Regions from separate parts of the Homo sapiens genome. Here regions 1 and 2 are each linked to region 3. The links are contacts of gene promoters, found by promoter capture Hi-C in blood cells and fetal thymus (Javierre and others, 2016). All regions are on one chromosome and are shown on one strand. The core of a region is centred on a gene start or on the middle of the fragment in contact, and the rest is flanking DNA. Distances in the headings are between cores, read along the strand shown.

Evidence for each region. Contacts are between HindIII fragments. The CHiCAGO score rates a contact against its expected background, and 5 or more counts as called.
Region 1: a contact is called between a fragment that was not itself captured here and the fragment with the promoter of GLI2 in region 3, in 1 of 17 cell types (megakaryocytes). The highest score is 5.8, in megakaryocytes.
Region 2: a contact is called between a fragment that was not itself captured here and the fragment with the promoter of GLI2 in region 3, in 2 of 17 cell types (erythroblasts and endothelial precursors). The highest score is 5.9, in erythroblasts.

What each region holds. Positions count from the first base shown.
Region 1 is chr2:120,940,019-120,943,674 of GRCh38, forward strand. All of the region lies in intron 3 of GLI2 (GLI family zinc finger 2), which reads left to right. Among named protein-coding and RNA genes, the nearest start is that of GLI2, 210 kb to the left of the region's middle. RefSeq lists an enhancer at 3,134-3,656. The HindIII fragment of the contact is 247 bases long and covers 1,328-1,574 here.
Region 2 is chr2:120,974,497-120,978,073 of GRCh38, forward strand. GLI2 (GLI family zinc finger 2) reads left to right here. Exons shown (of 14, transcript NM_001374353.1): 9 at 479-613. Among named protein-coding and RNA genes, the nearest start is that of GLI2, 240 kb to the left of the region's middle. The HindIII fragment of the contact is 2,220 bases long and covers 1,033-3,252 here.
Region 3 is chr2:120,733,626-120,737,155 of GRCh38, forward strand. It overlaps GLI2 (GLI family zinc finger 2), which reads left to right and starts at 2,243. Exons shown (of 14, transcript NM_001374353.1): 1 at 2,243-2,660. LOC124906073 (a long non-coding RNA gene) reads left to right here. Exons shown (of 3, transcript XR_007087219.1): 3 at 417-1,225. LOC124907881 (a long non-coding RNA gene) reads right to left here. Exons shown (of 2, transcript XR_007087221.1): 1 at 2,936-3,530. RefSeq lists enhancers at 872-1,519, 2,159-2,328, 3,447-3,530. The HindIII fragment of the contact is 6,148 bases long and covers 1-3,530 here.

The sequences.
Region 1 (3,656 bases), core at 201-2,700, 210 kb after region 3:
CTAATGAACCTTGAGTGTTCTTTCACATGCTTATGGGCCACTAATGTTTCCTTCTTGGGAAATGTCTGTTGGGCTATTTTGCCCATTTTTCTATGAGGTCGTCTTTTTCCCATTATTTGAATAAGTATTTTGCACACTAAGGTTACTCATTATGTGGTTAGCAACATGTGTTGTGAATATCCTCTCCCAGTTCGTGCCTGGTCTCTTCACTGCCTTGATGGCAGGTTTGGGTGAAGAGAAGTTCCCATTGTAAAATAGCTCAGGTAGGTTACCGACATTTCTACTATGTTTTTCCCTGCATGTTCTCCTCCCACCCAGATGTCTGGTCAGACCTTCAGCCTCTGGACTATAGTGGTTGTTCCCCAATACAACATGTCCTTATTCAGCTATTCTCCCATCTCAGAACACCAGGCCTATACTACTCACCACCTCCATTCCATTCTCTTATAAGAGTCTGGGCACAGTTCAGATGCCACCTCCTGCAGGAAGCCCTCTCAGATTGCACCAACAGAGTGGGTGAATTATTTTCCTCCCACCCCTCTTCCTGCTCCAGCACCTTGTATACTGTTAGAAGGCTATAGTCAGTGTCCATTCTCTCTCTGTGACCCCAGAGGTCCTGGCATGGTGATTCGGCCAAAGCACCAGTGTGAACTATGGGATTGAGGGCCTGTGATTTCCTGAGCTCGTAACTGGTCTTGGGAATGCCTGCCAAGCAGCAGCACCCTGTCTTACCATCACCATGGCTTCATGGGCACTCAGGGGGTCTGCTGAGATCTGTGCACTTGTGGATTCAGAGTAGACCTTGGGAATGTGGGGCATAGCACTTGTCAGTCAGGTTTGCAGCCACCTGCCCCCTCACTACCTGGGTGCATGCGGGGCCCTGGCCGGGTCTGTCTCAGAACCCCAGCTCCCCACACCTGCTCCCTCACTACCTGGGTGCATGTGGGGCCCTGGCCAAGTCGGCCTCAGACCCCCAGCTCCCCACCATCAGTGCCATCAGAGGCCCATGCTCAGTAAACATCAGCTGATCCGGGGGAGTGACGTGTGGACGCAGACACAGATCAGCAATGAATGTCTGCAAACTGCGGCCTCAGCTCCCGTACACAGAGCCTCCCCATGAGGACAGACTGCCACCAGACACACAGGAGAGTGCAGATTGATAAAAGACATGGACTGCGCTTCAGTTTGAGGAAGGGACAGTTCTCCATTGTTTTCCAAAAGAATTTGCTGTATGGCTCTTAAAAAATGCAAATCCCCTTAGTACATTTTGGAAAGGACTTGATTTCTAGAACTTTTTAAAACAAATGTATGGGAAACATGGTAAGCAAGCTTGCCAGTGTACAGTTTCACCTACAAAACCAAACAACAAAACTCAAACCAACAAACGAAAACCCTGGGGAGGAGATTGAATTCCATCCAGAGGAGCGTTCTGGAGCTCTGTTTCTATTTGTCGGTAGAGCCGAGGGTGGCAGGAGCTGGCCTTGCTCTCCAGGGAGGCCCTGGGAGAGCAGACACATGCACGCCCTGTCCTGGCAGTAAGAAGTTCCAGTTTGGGGAGGAAGAGATGCAGGGCAAGCTTTGGGGACTCCAGCTTCCTTTCCAGCAGGTCAGTGGGCCCAGAGGACGCCTGCCCAGCATTTCTGAGGAAGTGGGCACCTGGTCCTGAGCAGCTCCGCAACAGCAAAAAGGTCCCAGTGTCTCCACTCTGGAGCTCCGTGGACCCACCCATGGCCCTGTGATCCTGGTGGGTGGTAGGCATCTTGGCCCAAAGGCAGGGCTGGTGTACACAAGCCAGCGGTTCCGAGGCAGGAGGAAATGGCATGCTGGGGCTGTGTGCTGGGTGGATTCTGGCTATGGGGAGTCAGTGACCATGAAATCCAGGCGGCAGGGGGGAAAGCCCGCTCCACAGCCCTGTGCACATGGGGATGGGAACGCAGGACTCAGACACCTTCCTCCACCCAGCACAGGAGTTCCCCTACCCTGCCAGCCTGCCTCAAAGGGAGCATCTACTGGAACCTGGTTATTCCGAGCAATAAATAGGAGCCCTGCTAAGAGTTTAGTCTCAGAAGAACGATGGCACTAGTGACGGTGATGTCTGCCACCTCCCTAGGGCCAACTCTAGGCCAATGCAACATGCTTTCCATGACGAGTTCATTTCCTGGGGCTGCTGTAACACGGTACCACGAACTCAGTGGCTTCAAACAATAGAAATATGTTCTCTCGGTTTCAGAGGTCAGAAGTCCAAAATCAGTATCACTGGAACAAGATCGAGGTGTCACCAGGGCTGTGCACCCTCAGAGACCCCCAGGGGAGACTCTGTCCTTGCCTTTCCCAGCTTCTGGTGCTGCCAACTTTCCTTGGCTCCTGGCCATTTCCCTGTAGTCTCTGTCTCCCTGTCGCATGGCCATCTCATCTTCTGTGTCTCAGATCTTACTCTGCTGTCTAAAGACCCCATGATGGCATGTAGGGCCCACTCAGGTAACCCATAATCTCCTCATCTCCAAATCCTTGTCTTAATCACATCTGTCAAATCCCTTTTCCCAGTAAGTTCTTGTTCACAGGTTCCGGGGATAGAACATGGACATATCTCTGGGAGATCTCATGAGCCCCCCACGTGCCTTCCCTCTGCTCCTCACAACAGATTTGTAAGATCACTGTCGTAACTGTTCAGAGACGGCACATACGTGCTCCCAGGCAGGAGTGAGCTGAGGTGAGCCGGGACCCATGTCTTCTGCAGTAGTGTCTGTGCTCTTCCCTGGACACGCTCCCTGCTTTATTCATTCATTCATTCACTCATTCGTTCACGCCCTCACTCATTCATTCATTCATTCGTTCACGCCCTCTTTCATTCATTCATTCATTCATTCATTCACTCATTCGTTCACACCCTCACTCACTCATTCATTCATTCGTTCACACCCTCACTCACTCATTCATTCATTCGTTCACGCCCTCACTCACTCATTCATTCATTCATTCATTCAGCACACACGTATTTGAGCATGCTGTATGTCCCTGGCATGTGCGGAGCCAGGTGCAGGGCCAGCGTATGAACAGAAACGGATACAGGAGACAGGAGGCCTGTGAGCTCACAGCTGAGGATATCTGGTCATCAGCTGAGATGGACGTGCTCAGGTCAGAGGAAGGAGCCACCTAACACAGAAGCACCGTAGGAGGATCCTGACCTTGACCTGGGGCTAGGGGGCACCTTGGGTGAGAGGTCCCTGAGCTGGCACCTCTGGGAGGAGAACAGGAGTTAACTGGGGGAAGGGATGAAGAGGGGAAGGGCATGACTGGAGGTGCAGACATCAAAGGGCAAAGCTGTGAGAGGCAAGCATGGCCAAGGACCAGAGAGTGGCATACAGGACACAGAGGGGAGAGGCAGGCCCTGGCCACATGGGATTGTGGCCCCTCGCCTGCTGCCACTGAGGTCATAAGTCACCCTGAGAAGCAGGCAGGTGGTGAGATTTGTAGGCTCATATCCCCAAGTGACTGGGCCTCCTTTTCTCTTCATCAGCAACAGCTGTTGGACCAGTCTGGGGGCATCCGGGTGCCTGTGTTCCCACCCGCTGCTGCCGCTGGCCTCACTGTGGCCATGCCCCTGGTGCTTTGGGACTCAGCAGTGCTGTCTGTTAAATGGGACATGAAGGAGCTGT
Region 2 (3,577 bases), core at 893-3,392, 240 kb after region 3:
AATGGCCACATGGGCCCTAATGTGGTCAGGGGACTCAAGTCCAGACCTAGGCTGCCTCGAGCTCACTGTGTATTCATGGGGAGGGCCTCGGATCCTCCCTATCGTACAAGAATGCAGATGCCCATGCGTTAGGGCTGTGGCAGGGAAAACTGGTTCCCCACAGCACTTCGATGAAGACAAGTGTGCACTGGAGAGGAAGGAGGAAGGGCCCCAGGACAGGCCATCTGACAAGGAGAGCTGTGGGCGGGGCTGAGTTGAGGAAAGGAGCTAAAAAGGCTGATGAGTGTGTGTGTGTGTGTGTGTGTGTCTGCATGCATGTGTTGTGTGTGTGCACACACACCTGTAACACACACACTTGCATCCACACCTGTAACAGCCCAGGGTCCTTGGCACAGAATGCATGGGACTAACAGCGACCTCTTTTCAGGGCCAGGTGTCTGGACACGGCTCATGTGGGTGTGCCCTTCCCCTCTCCCAGGAGCAGCTGGCTGACCTCAAGGAAGATCTGGACAGGGATGACTGTAAGCAGGAGGCTGAGGTGGTCATCTATGAGACCAACTGCCACTGGGAAGACTGCACCAAGGAGTACGACACCCAGGAGCAGCTGGTGCATGTAAGCTTTTGAACCCCAGCAGCCCGCCAACCGGGGCACGGCCCAGGCCATGCAGGATGCTGAGCCTTCCAGGGCCTCTACTAGACAGAAGGGGCTGGAGGAAGAGACCCCCAGAGATGCCTGGGCCACATCCCCTGCAAGTGGGAGGCATAATTACTTATGTGTGTCCTGCCTGTTTTTAAGATGGCTTCCAATACATATGTAATACAAACAATTAAAAGAAAAAATAAGTAAATGAGACTGTCAGGGAAAAGAGAACAATAAAGTGAAACCAGGAATAGAGTTAGTATTAAAAACCGAGTGCTTTGAGCTATATTCTATATACACATTTTTTTTTTCTGAGATTCCTAATAGCCAGTGCAAAGAGGGAAATACGATTAGTTAAACCAGCCAGTATCTACACAATAATAAGTGAAAGAAGCTTCTCCCATGAAGGAAGGAGTTGATCCTTTCCTTTTGGGGACTATTCACAGATACCCAGTGGATATGGGTGCAGGTGGGCGTCTACACCCAGATCAGAGAGGAGGTTGCTTAACAGTGCCTGAGTACTGACAGCTCAGGTGATTAGAGATGACCATGGGAGCCGGCGAGACCTTCAGGATATGCCTCTTGGTCCTCATTCCAAACTCTCATACTGCAGCGTCCCTTATATGGCAGTTAGGGGTGATGTGTGCAATGTGCAGAGCAGAGGCTTGGCACGGGAGACACCTGGCTCCAAACCTGTCCCCACCACAACCAGCTGAGTGGTTCTGAGCAAGTGACTCCACCTCTGTGAGCTTCATTTGTTTCCTATAAAGGGGGTTGATGCTACCCCACAGGAGGGTCAATCATGTTTGTCAGCACTTAGTGCCTTGCAGACATTCCGCACCTAGCAGCTCCCTCCTTCCTCCTCCTGCCTGTTCCCCACACCAGCCCTGAGTGGTTCTCTCTTCTCCATCCAGAGAAGAACTTAAATTCAAGAAAGCCACCTCCCAACTCCCCAGCACATGCTCCTTGGTGAGTGAGTGTCTATAAAGATGAACCCACTAAATTAGTAGCTCGATTGCTGGGAAGAGCAGACACACACGCACGTGCACACACATGCACACACACACATGCACGCGTCTCCGATTCATATTCAGAAGCTGTCCAGAGGCGCTTGCTTCTCCCCAGCTCTGTGAACTTAGCATTTAGGACACGCCGACTCCCTCTGCTTCTTCCACTTATGCAACTTGCTCACAAATACCGTAGGTTTCTTTTGTGTTGGAGTTTGTCCTCCCAAACACAGTTCTCACCCAGAAGGCCAGAATTTCCCAGCAAACGAATGCAGCTGGTGAAGCAGGGTCTTATCTAACCCCTTCTGGATCTCAAACTTAATTTTTCAACTTGTACCACCTCTTTGGGGTAAACAAGCCCTAGATGGAGCAGGGACCGTGGAGCTGTGAGTTGCAGAACAAATCAGTTAGATGAAAGGAGGAGAGAGGGACAGTCTCTCAGGCCAGGGGAAGGCCAAAGCCAGAGCATGCAGATGAGGATGTCAAAGACGTGCTCTGTGATAAGTGGGTCAGCCCCAAAGAGCAGGCACGGAATTCCTCAGATGAATGCGGAGGGTCCCCAAACTGGGAGGAGGGCTTTAGCCAGGGGCTTCTGCCTGTGCCCTGGACTGTCCTGGAGCTATAGGTGGCCACCTCCACCAGGCCCTGGAAAAAGCAGACCCCTTCACCCAGCTCTGTCTGTCTGTCTCTCTCTGTTTCTCTCTGCTCCCTGGAAAGATGGATGGAGCAGGCGCACAGGCGAGCTGGAGCCCCTGGTCGATTATTAACAATTTGTTGCTAAGTAAACCAATAAGAAAAAAATGAAAGCCATTGTCAGGAAGCATTTTTATCATTTGAAAGGCTTTAAAAATGGAAAGTGAGGCTAATATGATAAGATTTCCCTGGAAGTTCAAAGCGCTGGAGATTTCACATGCTCCAGCAGGGGCATCTGTACGCGTGACAGTTGGGCGAGTCGCACAGGGCATGAGGGCCTGGCAGTTTTCTGTCTTCTGGGGCAAGGTGCTGCCAGTGCCTGATGCTTGGCTCTTGGGACAGCCTCTTTTGGTGGCAGAGTTCCACAGCAGAATGTCCAGCAGAACAATATTACAGGCCACAAATGCCAGCTATCCATGTAATTTACATTTCCTAGGAGTGCATTTAAAAGTAAAAAGAAACAGGTGAAGTTAATTTTAATATTTTTTATCCAGCCCAATATATCTGAAATATCATTTAGCAGGTAGTCAATAGAAAAGAAAGTTATTGAGATATTGTATATTCTTTTTTTTCCATTCTAAGTCTTTGAAACTGGTGTGTAGTTTGCACTTCTAGCCCATCCCAGCTCAGGCCAGCCACATTTCAAGTGTGCAAGAGCCCCACATGGGGCAAGTGGTCACTGCATTAGACAGTGTGGGTCTAGAGGTTGTGGGAGGGGGGCTGGGAGGAAGTGAAGACGGGGGAGGAAACTGAGAACAGAGGAGGAAGGGGAGGCCTCTAAGACCTGAGTGTCCTGGCCTCGCCACCAGGCTGGGGAAGTAAACCCAGCCTTACCCGAGATACGCGGCAGGGTTAGTCGTGCTGCGCTGGCTGTCCCAACTCACTTGCCTGGGGCCGTTTTCTCCCAGGATAAGCTTCACACAGTGCCCAGAGCCCACCATTAAGGTCAGTTCTGGCTCCACCACGCCGACTGCCAGGGCCCTGTGCAGGCCACTGAACTCTCTGTGCCTTTGTGGAAAGGGGACAAAGCCATTATCTCATGGGTCAATGCCAAAAATAGAGATAAGCATGTGTTATTTTTCTATTGAAACAAAATATGTTATTTACAAACCTCTGAAACAATAGGGGCAAGCTTAGGAGAGGCTTCTCATGCACCCACTACGGGCACGTTTGCCTCGCTGCGGTTAGTGCCTACTGTTTGCAGCCTGGGAGCGTCATCACACCAGAGCCCAGGCTG
Region 3 (3,530 bases), core at 993-3,492:
ACATTGATTTGTTTAAACTTCTTCACAAACTTTACAACACAAGGAAATCAACAGAGACAAGCTCATAATGAAGTAATCAGCCAACGCGGCTAATATTCCAGCAATGAGAAATGATTCCCTACATGTCATGGGGCAGATATGAATAGGGTCATTAAAATATGGCCAAGGAGGGGAGGGAGAGTTTACTTTTTCTGTCTCCTTAGAGTCTGTGTTCTGAAAGCTCAGCAGGAATTTAAACAAATAGCACGGAGGAATGGTGAATCTGATCATCTTTAAAGAAAAAGCCCCTTTCAAACTTCTCTTTAAATCATTGGCTTATGCAAGTTTCGCTTTTTAAAAATGCTGCCGACCTTTTCCCCCCAAACAAAATTAGCATCAAATTGTTCTAATATTTTTCTGCATATTTTTTTCTCTAGGTCAAGAAGAAATTGTTGCTCCATCATATAAGTGAATGTCAGGAGGAGGAAGGAGGATCTTAAGGAATGAAGTTCTAATGCATCCTCTTTGATTAAAAAGTAAAAGAATAAAGTTAGCAGAGGATAAAAGGTATATGGAGAGAGCCACCCACAAAAAGGGTTGCACCGGTGAAATGGGCCTGTGTAGGTCACATCCCCTCAGGGAGGGTAGCATTGGGTCCCTTGCATTTCAAATAAAATGCAATTTTAGGAACAGGGGCTGAAGGGAGAGACACTTCCACCCACCTCAACAGGGCAATTTTTTAAAAATTTAATTTAATTAATTTATTTTTTTGAGACAGAGTCTCGCTCCATCACCCAGGCTGGAGTGCAGTGGCGCCATCATGGCTCACTGCAACCTCCATCTCCCAAGGGGTTTGAGAGATTCTCCAGCCTCAGTCTCCCAAGTAGCCGGGATTACAGGCGCGCGCTACTATCCCTGGCTAATTTTTTGTATTTTTAGTAGAGACGGGGTTTCACCATGTTGGCCAGGCTGGTCTTGAACTCCTGACCTCAGGTGATCCCCGTGCCTCGGCCTCCCAAAGTGCTAGGATTACAAGCGTGAGCCACCGCGCCCGGCCCAACAGGGCAAATTTAACTGAACTTACAGTACAACCACCCGAAGCTCTGGGAGGATGGCAGAGTGCTCTGACCTTAGACTAGTTACTTAACTTTTTAAAGCATCAGACTTCCCACCTGTAAAAACACGAGAAGAGAACCTTCCTTACAGAGCTGTGAAAGTCCAATAATACAAAGAAAATATAACATCACCTGGCACTTGGTAGAGTGTTCTACAAACGTTAGGAAGAATAAAACCAGAAATTCCCCCCAAGACCCTCTTCGGGTGAGGCCCAGGGGCCCTGGAGAGGGTGGCAGGCCCGGGGGTGTGGGGAGGACACTTTAGCCAGCTGCCCCCAATTCTCCTCCAAGCCTGGCGGCCCAGTTCCGGGCTGTGGTGTGGCTTGAGGGCCCAGGGCTCCTCACTGAGCTTGCTTAAGCAAGTTCTTTCACACACAGCCCCATATACACTTTGGCTAGAAAATTCAATGAGGAGTTTTTTCTTCCTTCTTTCTCTGTTGTTGTTGGGTTCTGATTACTTCCATCTGGCTTCAGCGGCTCGAGTGGAGTCTCTAAAACACACAACACAACAAAACAAAAACCCACCCTGCAAGCCACATGCACCAAACCTAGAAGGCTGCTTCGTTTCTCGCCAGCGTGTGCTCAGATGGCGACGAGGGCTAGCGGCGGCGGGGGACGCCTCAGGACCCCCGGCACCTGCGCTCGCTGCCCGCGGGAAGAGGGTCCGCGTGGACCCAGCCCCCGCGTCCCTTCTCTGGCGTCCCCGGCTTCCGCGCGGGCGTCCAGAGAAGCGGGCGCCCTGGGAACAGCGACCCAGGCATCTCCCCGAGGAGGGAAGTGGGAGGTGGGGAGGGCGGGGGGATTTCAGAGATTGAAAACAGAGCAGCCCTTGCCCCTCAGCTCCGGAGCTCATCTGACTTGAGTTAGCGACACCCCCAACCCCCCCCCCCACACCTAGTCGTCTAAAAAAAGTGTCGGAGATTGGCGCGTCCTTTGGTTCCTTTCTCGAACTTTCCTTGTAGGTGCGTTTTCTTTCCTTGGTGCTGGGTGGGGAGAGTCCCTGTGCTCCCCCTTTCCCCTCCCCCCGCCCCGGCGGCGTTCGGGTCCCCCTGCGTCCCCCGGCAGGGAGCGGGCGGGCTGGCTGGCGGGTTCTTGGGGCCCGGGTGTGCCCGCACCGTGCGCGCGGGGGCGCTGCGCAGTCCGGCGGCGCTGATGGATTGCAGAAGTGCCGGCGCTTGCCAGCCGAGGCAGCACGGCTCCGCGGACTTTTTTTCAAACTCCCATCAATGAGACTTCGAGGAGGAGCGGGCGGCGGCGGCGGCTGCGACTGCGAACGCGGAGGAAGGCCAGGAGCCGCAGGAGGAGCCGGAGGAAAGAGCTTGGGCCGCGCGGCGCGCCGCAGCCTCGGGGAGCCGCCTGCTCGCCGGCGGTAGGGGCTGCGCGGCGCCCGCCCGCCTCTCGGTCCCCTCTCTTGCCTGGCCCGCCCCGCCCCGGCTGGCTGGAGCCCCGGCACAAGGCAGCCAGCCGAGGGTCGCCGCGCCAGCCAAGGTGGGATGGGGGCCCACAGCCACCGCCCGGCGCCCGAGAGGCCACCTGCGTGCTAGAGGCAAACTTTTGTCTCTCTCGGTAAAGTTGCATTGGCCTTCTTTTGCTTGCTTTTCGTGACGAAGCGCCTCCCACCTCGGCCAAGCGCGGGCCGACTGGGATGCTGCGCCGTCTCGGGGGGTCCCTCGGCCGGGTACCGGCGCCTAGGCCTTGGGATCGGGGCCCTGGGCTTCGGGGGACTAGAGGCTAGTAGGCGCGACCCCGCCTGGGGCTCTGGACGAGCAGGGCGGGGACGTAAGGAGAGTCCTGGGGCTTGGAGCTCGTGGCCAGAGGTCGATGTTGCACCCTCTCCCTACCTGGGGGAGAGCACCACTCTTCTCGGGGTGCACAGCGAGCCGGCCTCCGCGCGCCGGCGGGGGTCTGTTTTTTCAGGGGGTGGAGGGTGGGATCGGAGGCTGGGATGCTCCGAAGCTGCCGTAGGTGGGCATGGGAGCGTGTCTGCGGGCGTACTGAGCGCGGAGGGGCTGCAGCCAGCCACTTGAGAACTTCGAACTCCACTTCTCCGCGCTGCGCGTCCCGGAGCCCTGCCTTTCTTTCTTCCTTCCTCAATCCTTCCTCCCCCTCGCCCGGCCCGGCCGCCCCCTCCCCCTCTGCTGGGCTCTCCTCCTCGGCCCCCCCTCTTTGCCTCTCTTCTCCTCCTCTCCTGCCCTCGGCCCTGAGATCCGCTTGACTTCCCAAAGGGATCCGCACGTAATCCTTTGCCGGGTCCTCCGGTTCCCCCTTCCACCTCACTTTCATCCCTGCCCCCCTACTCATCGTCTCTCCCCACCCCCGACAATCTCTCAACAAGTATATTTGCTGAGGAATTTGAAAAATCCACTACTGCAACTTGATCTGTATGTGATGGATGGGGAGAGGCGCGGAGAGAGTTGGGCGCCAATCCTATTAAGG